Regions from separate parts of the Homo sapiens genome. Here all the other regions are linked to region 2. Evidence: promoter capture Hi-C in human tissues and cell types (Jung and others, 2019). All regions are on one chromosome and are shown on one strand. Each heading gives the region's core, a stretch centred on a gene start or on the middle of the fragment in contact. The rest is flanking DNA. Distances are from core to core; before and after follow the strand shown.

Region 1 (3,501 bases), core at 889-3,388, 140 kb before region 2:
CATGACCCATGGGCAAGAGACAGTAAGAACAAGTCTGGAGCAGAAGAGTCTACCCAGAGACACCCCAGAGACTCCCAAGCATAACCACGGCAAACTATAGCTGAGGAAGGACACGAGCTCTGAGTCAGAGGGAGGGGACACAAGCCAGCAAAATGTGGGTAAGTCGCAATCACATGAGCTCACCAGCTGGTGGGGTGTGGCTGCAACTGAAGCACATCTTTGGAACCCTTGGATCTCCAAAGAGCATAACTACAACCACAATAAATTATGGTTATTCTAATTGCCCAGGGGCAGGACTCAGGATGGGACGTTCAGTCAACAGGTAAGCACTCTTGTTAAAATGCTTAGTATGTTTTGGTCCGCAAAGGAGACAAAACAAGCAAACATCCCAAATCTTATGCTCCAGGAATGAAGCCTCCCATTAGAGCCAAATCCCTGACAACATGTGGTCAAGTATCTAACTGCAGTTACCACCTGAGAGTGCTGTGGGAGTGTGGGTACAACCAGAGCACACGGCAGTCATCAGGGAGATGTGGCTTTAGCTGAAGTGCTGAAGCCGAGGCAAGAAGGGAGAGCATTCCATCCAAGCTGGATGGGGAGAGGGCATAGAGAAAGGGCAGTGTTAGTGGGCTGGGCCCTCTGGGGCTGAGAAGTGTTAGACCTTGAGCTAAGTGCTTTTCATGCATTACTTTGTTTAATATTCCCAAAGTCACTCTGAGGTAGGTGCTGCTGGTACCCACATCTTGCAGATGAGGAGGCCAAGAGCTCAGGGAAGTTTATTAACTCACCCATAATCACACAGCTTGTTTCTGGGGGGGACAGAGCCAATCTCAGGACACTCCGGTTGCACACAGAGCCTGCACTCAGTCTCCTTGCCAGGGCCAGTGGGGGTGTCAGAACTTCTCAGGCAAACTTGCTCCTGCCCTTGGCAAACAGCCCCAGATGGTCACATCCCAGGCTGGCGAGTCCCTGCTGCCTCTGAGCTCCCTGCTCGGTGGAACAGCTCAAGTCCTGCCCGCAAGCTTGGCGTCCTGCCTGCCCCCGAAGATGTCTTCAGCAGGAATCACAGCCAATGAATGTACCAGCAGGACAAGACAAGCTAAATGCTCAAGAGGCTCCCAGGGAACAATGCGGCCCTCTGAGCAGGCCAGGCCAGAGCACAGTCCTGGAGGGCTGACAGGAATTAGCCCCAGCTGACCAAGAACCCACTCACTCGGTGACCTGTTTCCTGTACTCTGGGGGTGAAGGTACTTCTTGAGGGTTGGACCCCAGCGCCACTCAGCCAGCCTTTGTCACACCTACCTAGGGCCTGCCTGCTGTGCCGGGAGACCCAGAGAAATGGCCCCAGCTGAGGTCCCAGCAGGCCAGTCCCTGTTTTCCTCCTCTACCCTCACACTGGGCCCACTTTGCTCAGGGAATCCCATGCACAGTTCACACTTGACTCCAATCCCAGTTGGAGAGTGGAGTTTAGGCTGGTCAGGGCACCTGAGTGTGTCCCAGACTAAAGCCCTGGCTTGGTTCCAGTCTCCTTCCTAGGGTGGACATGCCCCTTCTCTAGGGCTGCAAGCCTATCCTTGACCCTGCTACCAGCTCCGCCTTAGCCCTCAGTGATCAGTTCTGGCAAGGTTGCTGGAAAGGGGGAGGGTAGAATCAGGGAACTAAGTACCCTGACCTTGGCAGGTAAAAAAACCCCACAGCAATAGGAGGTTTACTTTGCAGAGGGGTGCTGATAAATTTCTGGACTTGTCCCCCAAACTCTCATGGTAGACACATGCCCCTCCACACTCCCTTCCCTCCAATGTGAACTGGAGCAGCCCCTGCTACAAGACTCTGTTCTTGCAAAAGCTGCCTACACCTGTGGGTCTGGCTCTAGAGAGTCTGGTTTATTCCTTAGGCAGGAAAGCTCCAGGTAACTAGAAGGTGAGAGGGCTCAGCTGCATCCACGGCTAGGCAAAGGTCCACTGGTCACCAGGGAGCATGTGGAGGTGAGGAGGGAGGAAGAGGAAAGGTGTACTACATACACAGGTCCCCCTCTCTTTTAGAAAAGCATTCTCACTCTTGTTCAAAATTCACACTGCAGACACACATACACACATTCACTCACACCCTTTCCACTTGGCACCTTCCAAAAGGAGAAAAGGCAGAGGGGGCTGGGGCTCCAGGGCTCAGGTGCAGGTACTGCCACCATGGTTTTGCTCTGCTGGAGAAGCTTGGGTGGGGAGCCTTCTGGAACCCATTCTGCCACTTGGCTGCATCTCTGGGAGATTGTGAGGCAAGACCTGCAAACAGGAGCTCTGCACTCCTGGCTCCCTGGGACAAGGGAGCAAGGGCCATTCATTGTGCAGTTGAGAAGGGCCTCGCCTAGCTGGGGTATGGCTGAAGGGCTGATTACACTGCACTGTCAGAGAGATGATGGAGATAAGCAGATGGCCATGCCACTAGTGGTCATTCCTGGGCCCTGTCTTTGTGCCGGAAGGAAAGGAATTCACCTTACAACCGCACCTCCTTTTTTGCCACTCAGCCCCCTTCACAGATGAATAAATTGAGCCTGGGAGTTTAATACTTTGCCCCAGGTCTCATGACTAGCAAACCCCAGAGCTAAGATCTGAGGCTAAAGTTTTCTTTCTTCCAGTACATTCTGATGTCTCACAAGTGCTTGTGATACAGTCCCGGGCCTCAAGGAACCACTGGGAGACAAAACTAACCTAGAAGACCTAGAATACCTCACTTTCCGCCGGCAGTGTGGTTCAGACTGCACAGCTGTTGGCACTCAGAAAACAGAGGTCTGTGTGGTCAGGAGTCACCAGGGAGGAAGAGTCAGGTGGATTGGATCAGGTGGTGGGTATTAGGCACCTTCCAGTCTCAGACTCTTTCCTGGAGAATGTGGAATAGGAAGAGGGAGATGGGAAGGTATCATTTTCCTATGACTTTACTGCAGTCAGAAAAACCACCTCTGCCATAATACCCTCGCTGCCTAAGCCAGATCCTAGAGATAGGGTGAGGCCTGGTGCCCAAGATTCTCAATTCCATGCTTCTCCAGCTCTCTCAGTTCTCCCTGAATTGGGGGTCTACATCCCCTGCTTAGAAGCAGCCCCTACACCCAGGTTAATATGTGCTTGGCTTAAGGTCCCGGTGTCAGGATTGCAGCCAGGAGGCCCATCAGTCAACATTAACCACCTGGAACTCACCTCCTCCTTAGCTCTAGCCCCAGTCTCAGCATTCCCAGGGCAGTGTGAACTGCCCTGAACACCCTCACCCAGGCCAATTTCTGGTTCTGAGCAGAATCATTTCCTCTTTCTAGAAGCTGCAGGACCCGCCCACCTAGGAGTTGTATCCTCCTGGGCTCCCAAGCCCTGACACTGCAGACCTGCTTCCCCCACACCCCCAACCCCAACCCTAAACCACTCCTAAAGGAGTGCCGAGTTCAGATGGGCAGAACAGTCCCTCTGCAGCGGCAGCTGGCATATGCCCACCTCGGAGCCCAGGGTGTGTCTGGGTAAT
Region 2 (3,614 bases), core at 611-3,110:
AACCTGTAGTGTTAGATAAACGTTACTTTTGAGAAGGAGTGTGGCATAGTCACCAGGAGCGGATAGAAGGAGGGTATCTGGGATGCCAATAATGATCTCGTTCTAGATCTGGATGGTGGTCATATGGGGGTGTTCACTGTGTCATCATTTGTTGACCTGTACACTTAGGTTTCGTGTTCCTTTCCTAAATGCCTGGTATATTTCAATTAAAAAAATACACACAGGAGAGGGGAACAGTTTTCGAGTAAGTAAAAACACGGAAGGTAGAAAGGAAATAGGAGAGAGATCAAGATTTTATACACAGGTAGCTGAGCTGTGGCCAGATTAAATGGGGTAGTGGAGGGGAGGGAACTGTTGAATAGAACAGGGCAGAAGTTGCCTCCAGCCCAACCAAAGTTCCTCCAGATACATCAGCCTTAATTCCCCACCCAACCCCACACCCCGTATTCACAAACCTCATCTTTCTGGACAAGTCCCAGCATTTCCTAGACTAGCAGCTACTTCTCCTGGCAGAAAAACCCAGTATTTGAGGCCAAAACTGGGGTCTGAGACACTGATATTTTGCTCTAGTAGGTCCTGTGAGTCTGCAGGCCCTTGATGCAAATGCTCCAGAGCTGATCTGGAATCATCCTGGGGGTACTGGTTTGGGGTGGGTGAGGGGAACAGGGTTTGGTATGTGTATTTGTCATCCTTATCAAAAGGAATGACCTGCTCAGGTTGCTGTGTGTGCTCTTGTGAGCACGTGCCCAAAGCTTCATACACAGCACTGCGATCTCTTCTCCCCAGGCACATCTCCGCTCCAAACCCTATTCAGGGGTCTAGAGCCATGTTCGAATGCCCCCGGGCTACTTTCAGGGAGGAAAAGGACAGGAAGGAACCGTTGGTCACAGGTTCCACTGACAAGAGGGGAAAACTTGGGAGTGGGGGTTCCTTTATGAGGGAGGTCACACCCCCTGCACAAAAACATCCCAAAGAGAACTGGCATTGAGCTTGTGTTGGAGAGGTGGAGATACCCCAGGGAGGAAGTGGCGAAAGGTGAGCATGGGAACACCCCTCTTTGATCCCACAAGGTGCGTCAGGGAAAGTTGGATTTCATTTAGTCCGGGATGGTGACATCTCTCCGCACGCTGCCACCAGGCTCAGTGGGTCAGAGGAAGTGAGGCTCCCCTCCTCTCCGACCTCAGGTGATGCGTGTGCGACCCCAGCCATGGGTCTGACCTCCTTTCGCTCCCGCCCGCCAGTCTCCACCCCTTTCAAGGCCGGGACTTTTTTAAGGCCGGATTCGTCAGGGGTGAGCCATTTGCTCAAGGAACGCGGAATCTGGAGGGAGCCTAAAGTGACGAGCCGGCGGGAGAAGAGCAAGGTAGGGACTGTTCTGTCCGGGTACCAAGTGGGAGGAGGGAGCACGCGGCTGGCTGCTTGAGCCCGGGGGTCAGAGGTGGCTGGCTGGCTGGCTCCACAGGGACGTTTACCGGTCTTCCCGAAGGCCAGAGGCTCCAAGGAAACATCCAGAGGCAGGAGAGGACGCGCACTGTCGCACACGCCTCTCAAAGTCTGCTGGGGCTCCGACGCGGCGCAGCGGGCCCGGGGGCGGTAGCACCACGCAGCGAGCCCGGGCAGCGGGCCCCTCGGACCCCGGGCCGATGGGCGCTGGGACCCGCGCGCTCCAGGCGCATGGAGCCGGCTCCCGGTTCCCGTCACTCCTCCTACTGCGTTTCCCCGGCGCCCCGCCTCCTGGGCACGAAGCGAAGGAAGGGGGCCGGGCCGAGGTTGATCCCGCCCCCTCCCCAGTCCCTGATTGGCTGCTGCTGTTGTCCATCCGAGAATCTATTTTTGATGGAGCGGGGGGGGTGCCACCCAGTCTGCCCCAGATCACGTTTGCCACCGGCAGCCAACCAGTTGGGCCCGAGTCCGCGGGCAAGAAGCGATTGGGGGCGCGTGAGCTCGGCTCCCCGGTCCCCCGTCCGGGTGCCCCCCCGCCGGGCCCGAAGCGATATATCCTGCCCTCCCCGGCCACCTCCCCCGCGTGGAAGCGGAGCGGCGGCCTCGCTGTAACGCAGAAGCGAAATGTAGCGAGCCGGGTGTCGCGGCTGGACGCTCGCCTTGGCTGGGGGTGTGGGGGGGCACGCCGGGGGCCAAGGAGGACTGTCGAGGAGGAGTGATGAGAAGAGGGGGTGCCCTGCACCCCCCGAGACCACGGGCCACGCTGCCACTTGCCAGGCGCCCCCCTTCCTCCCAGGCGAGGGGCAGGTCAGTCCTGTGGGGTCCTGGGGCGGGGAGGGGGTGGTGGAGGGCGGCAGTCCTGGCGCGCAGCGCATTTGCTGAATCTGAGTGGTGGAGAGACTGAGGAGGCCACCCAGTTACTTTCTCTCCCTCCTCGGGGTTGGGGATACTAAAATGGGTCTTTTTTGTCCCCGCCTGGGAGGAGGGGATAGGGCGTCCTGGTTCACTTTTGCTTCTTTCGTCCCAGGGCCTTAGGCCTGTCTGAAGTCTCTTTACAGGGGGAGTGGTGAGGGAGGACTGGCTTCCCCTCCTGGGAGCCCCCTCTCAGGTTCAGTGGCCTGCCAGGAACACAGGAGGGAGGCGGGGGTGTCAGCTTTTAGCGGACTCAGAAACTTTTCTGGCATAGGGGCACTGGACTCAGAGGTTTCCTCCTGGATCTCTGGTGAGGGAGTTTGAAAGAACCACAGTACTGTGTTTAAGGAGATTGGAAAAGGGAGTCCTGGTGGGTGACTGAATTGATAGAGGAAACAGTTCTCCTGGGCCAGTTCCTGGGGTTTGATACCTCCTTTCCTAAACTGAACTTGACTAATTGTGTGTGTTTGGAATACTTAAGGACCTGTTCCTCTTACCTGGTGGAACTCTCTTTAAATTTATTTTTTACGAATAAGAGCTCTTCTGGTGAAATGGAATAGGATGGGAGTCCATCAGGAATTAGGAAGCCTGGGGATTCCTTTAGGCAGAGAAGTGGAGCCATTACAGCTAAAGAGATGCATTTGGAGCAAGTGCATATTGGCTTACGGTGCTTTGGTTTTTGTTTTGGGTTTTTTTTATTGCTACTTTTGTTTTTTTGTTTTTGTTTCTAAGAATTCCACTATATCCAACTCTCAGTAACCCTGGGGAACAGGAGGAGCCTAATTAACTGAAATGCGTGGGTAATAAGCAATCGTTTTATGCTCTGTCCCTTCTAACTGAGATAACTCCCTTGTCCTATCTGACAAGCTCACAGGGCCAAGAGCAGGGGGAGACGGGGAGAGACAGAGGCCTGGATCCGAGTCAGCTGTCTGAGCTCTTTGTAACACTGTTGACTCTCAAGGGCAGGAGTGGGTAGGCCTCTGGCTCTTGGCCTTGGTCTGGCAGGCTTGCCCCACTGCCCAGGGAGTCCTCCTAGCTTTGTTTTGTTTTCTCAGAAGCTAGAACGATCTGGGGTCTGGGGGACTTCACTCAGCAATCAGTTTCTCCCTATTTCTTTGCCCTGTGTGGCTGTCTTTCTGTTGCTGTCTTGTGATGATAAGCAGTCACTTTATACAGGGGTGGCTGTGTGGCAGGGAGTTTGTGACTGAATTTGTAACTGAACCCCACTTAAATAATGCAGGGTTCTTAATGGGCATTCA
Region 3 (3,528 bases), core at 551-3,050, 210 kb after region 2:
ACCAGGTACCAGGACTCAATTTAATTTCCTCTACCCAACCAAGTTTTAGTGGAGAAGACTTGAATAGCCATTGAGAGAGCGCCTCCACCACCACCCAGCTTTCTGAAACAGTATGGTCGTGCTGGTGATCAAGAGGCTGAAAGTCTTCTCTTGCCTTCTTCACCCAGTTTTACCTCTGGTAGCACTCAGAGTTTTCCATTCCAATTGATCTGTCTTGGGTAGGAACTACAAAAGAAAAACAAAACAGGTAGCATGTTTCAGCAGCTCTGATGAGTTGCAGTGATGATTCATTCTGAGAGCTTACCCAGGCTGTTTGTTTCTCTGCCATTCTGTGGCTCTAGAGGGAGCAAAGTGAAAAGTCAGACCCCCTAGTTCTGGCGAACAGTTGGTGGAGGCAGTTTCCTGAGACTGCTGTCTAGGGCTTGGGGAATGTGTCTGTCTCCCATGAATAAGGAGCCCATTAAGTGTTATTCATTTAATGTTCAGCAAATATTAATTGAATGTAGGTCTTAAATGAAACTCCTGTGTGTGTGCAACCAGTACTGCTGTCTCAGAAGTGAGGCTATAGTTAGTGCTGTTTTGGGGGCCACCTTTCCTTCTGGGCCTTTGTACTGAGCGTTTAGAGCGTAGATATGTTCACCCACTGAGAGCGGATGGTGAATGCCTGTTCCTTTAGTCTTTTTGTGATGATTTTGCTTTTTATAGGGAGGACAGAGTCTCCGCCTGGGCACCTTCTCTTAAGAACTGGCTTTGCACACAGCCGATGCAGTCCCTGGGCACTTTGAAAGCAGTGGGCAAAAGGGCAGGTAAGGGCTCAGGGTTATGAAAATTGCTTTGGGACTCCCCCTGCCTGGGGTCTCTAGAAGGGAGACTATTCTTAGGAGGTGTCTGTGCCCTGAAGGAGACTTTCTTTGCTACTTGGCCTGAAGGACTTCTTTTTGAAAAAAAGATTTGGACTAGAATCAAAATCCTGAACTGCAAAGAGATGGCCAATTAGGCCGTTGGGCTGAGTTCCAGCCAAGGAGTCGGGCTCTGCCTTTCAGTTCCCTGAACAGGCTGGAAAGAGATTCTTGGCTCATGGTCCCATGACATGGTGGGATGCAGGAAGCCAAGTTCACAATCCATACCCCTCTGCTAATGGAGAAACCATGAGTCAGCCGACCCAGCTCTCGCCTATCTTAAGAGTCCAGCGCAGACAATCGTATGGAAAGCAGGAAGAGAGGAAAAGGAAGCTGTAGAAAAATAAACATTTCCTTGCATTTTACTTGGAACAGAGCAGCGTTTCTGGCACGTTAAGATCCATAGCATCTCCTGCTCCCCCGCTCCCCGACCCCGGCTCTGTTTTCCTCCTCTTGTGTAGAAACAGATACTTTCCTTACCTGATGGGAGTCCAGGGTGCATCCTGTGGAAAAACAGGAGCAAGATATAGAAGGTAAAAGCCAGACAACCAAAGATCACGCCACAGACCAGGAAACTATAGCTGCCCTGAGCCTGGAATATCTGCCAAAGGGGAAAACACAGAGAGACAGACAATTAAAACTTCACGTGGAAGGTGTATCGGAGGAAGCAGCCTTCTCCATCCTTGGCTGGTTTTTCAGCTAAGTTGAGGCCCGTCACACCAAGAGATGGAATCACGGGGAGGAGGGAGGCCTTGGCCTTGTTTCAAGTTGATGTGTCTGGAGAAGGCCGAAGTCCTGCTCTAAGGCAGGGACTGGACCTGGTGACCCCCTGCAGTCCCTTGCAGCTCTGTGTTCTGGAACCTTCTGACGATCTCTATCATCACTGAAGCTCCAGTCATACTAGGTGTTTCTATACCCATAAGCCCTAACCAGAACTTTGCAGAGGATATATTGTTTTACTCTTTTATTATGAGAATTTAAAACATGTTAAAGTAGTATATGGAGCTCCAATGAACCCAACACTCAACTTTAGCAGTCAGCACCGGTTTCATTGGTGGCCTTGCACTTCTTTTCTGCACTAGGTTACACTAAAGCAAGTCCCAGATGTCACATCATTTCAATGAGGAGGGTATGGTGAGATGCAGCTCTTCCCCTCCCTCCAGCAGGGCAAAAGAGGAGGAAAGGAGAATGGAGTCACAATGAGGGAGATTTTGGAGGCCGGAAGATCTAGATGTGAGGTCCTCTCTGTCAGTTTCTGGAAGTGTGACTGACCTAGGGTAAGTTGCTAAATTCATCTGAGTTTCCGTGTCCTCTGTTGTAAAAAGGGGAATAATATCTACATTATAGTATTCAATAAAAAGTAGATGTTAGGTTGTTTTTTTTTTTTTCCTGGTGAATAAATGAAACATGGGTGGATTTGAATAGAACTGGAAGAGTTGGCCCTCTCGGTCAGGGCAGGAGTTGAGCAGGAAGCTGGGCCCTCTGCAGGGTGGCCAGAGGCTGTGAGAGGTGGGGTAGGGAGTGGTGGGTTCCGAAGGGATGGAAAAAGAACTCTGACTGCAGTTCCAACCCATCTCAGGCTCTGAGAGCTAAACAGCATTCCCACGGGCCCCCTCTGGCCCTGCTCCCAGACATGGCTTGTGTTTGCTTTGGACTTTTCCATGCATCCGTTTACATCTCCAGATCCCACATATGGAGGCTCAGCTCTCAGGGCTGGCTTGGAAACGGAAACAGGTAACAACGGCACAGGGGGCCCTGCTGGCTTTGCTGGAGACTCAGGAAAGGGACAGTTTGAGTTCAGAAGGTGGCTATCTGCATCTTCTCACCTGTCAGAGGAGTGCTCCCCAAATGCTCCCCTCTCCCTTACAGGTCCCCACATACCGAACCAACCAGCATCTGCAGCACCATCTCGCCAACTCCTGCCCCTGTCACCAGCACTGTGGTTGCACAGCCTAACAAAAAGAGAAGGTTTGGTTTGGTAAAAGCAAGTTAAGGAGACAGAAGCCAGCATTACAATCCAGGTTGCTGGCCAGGCACAGTGGCATATGCATTTCGGAAGGCACATCCCAGTACTTTAGGAGTCAGAAGTGGGAGGATCTCTTGAGGCCAGGAGTTCAAGACCAGTCTGGGCAATATCACAAGACTTGGTCTCTACAAAAAGTAAAATTTAAAAAAATTAACTGGGCATGGTGGTGTGCACCTGTAGTCCCAGCTACTTGGGAGGCTAAGGTAGGAGGGTCCCTCGAGCCCATGAATTGGAGGCTGCAGTGAGCCATGATCGCACCACTGCACTCCAGCCTGGGTGACAGAGTGAGACCCTGTCAAAAAACGAAAAAAAAAAAAAAAAAAAAAAAAAAACAACCTAGGTTGCTTCTGGGAAACCTCTGGAAGATGGCCTGGCAGAAAGGACTACTTTGGATTTCTCAGACATGAGCCTGTAACTTTGCTTTGGGAATGCCTAGGTCTTACTGTCATTTTGTCCTTTCCTTGTTCTGAAACCTTTAATTGCTCATCAATATCTCAGGGTAAATCCCATCTTGCTTAGCCCTGGCATTCAGCGCCATTCCCATTCTGACTGCTACCTACCTTTCCAGAAAGATTTCCTGATATCCTGAGGCTAGCCCTCTGG

Evidence for each region. The method cuts DNA at HindIII sites, captures the fragments that hold promoters and counts their contacts. A contact is called where the count stands out against the background at its distance.
Region 1: a contact is called between a fragment that was not itself captured here and the fragment with the promoter of SLC41A1 in region 2, in 4 of the 25 tissues and cell types used here (IMR-90 fibroblasts, aorta, fat and 1 more).
Region 3: a fragment that was not itself captured here is called in contact with the fragment with the promoter of SLC41A1 in region 2 in 1 of the 25 tissues and cell types used here (aorta).

What each region holds. Positions count from the first base shown.
Region 1 is chr1:205,948,002-205,951,502 of GRCh38, reverse strand. The region is part of intron 2 of SLC26A9-AS1 (SLC26A9 and RAB7B antisense RNA 1); the gene reads right to left. Among named protein-coding and RNA genes, the nearest start is that of SLC26A9, 6.3 kb to the right of the region's middle. The HindIII fragment of the contact is 4,219 bases long and covers 29-3,501 here.
Region 2 is chr1:205,811,444-205,815,057 of GRCh38, reverse strand. SLC41A1 (solute carrier family 41 member 1) reads left to right here and starts at 1,860. Exons shown (of 11, transcript NM_173854.6): 1 at 1,860-2,250. RefSeq lists silencers at 1,500-1,729, 1,870-2,129 and an enhancer at 1,566-2,066. The HindIII fragment of the contact is 10,091 bases long and covers 1-3,614 here.
Region 3 is chr1:205,597,103-205,600,630 of GRCh38, reverse strand. SLC60A1 (solute carrier family 60 member 1) reads right to left here. Exons shown (of 10, transcript NM_181644.5): 8 at 2,781-2,851; 9 at 1,380-1,500; 10 at 1-225. The coding sequence ends at 170. Among named protein-coding and RNA genes, the nearest start is that of SLC60A1-AS1, 30 kb to the right of the region's middle. RefSeq lists an enhancer at 1-666. The HindIII fragment of the contact is 9,157 bases long and covers 1-3,528 here.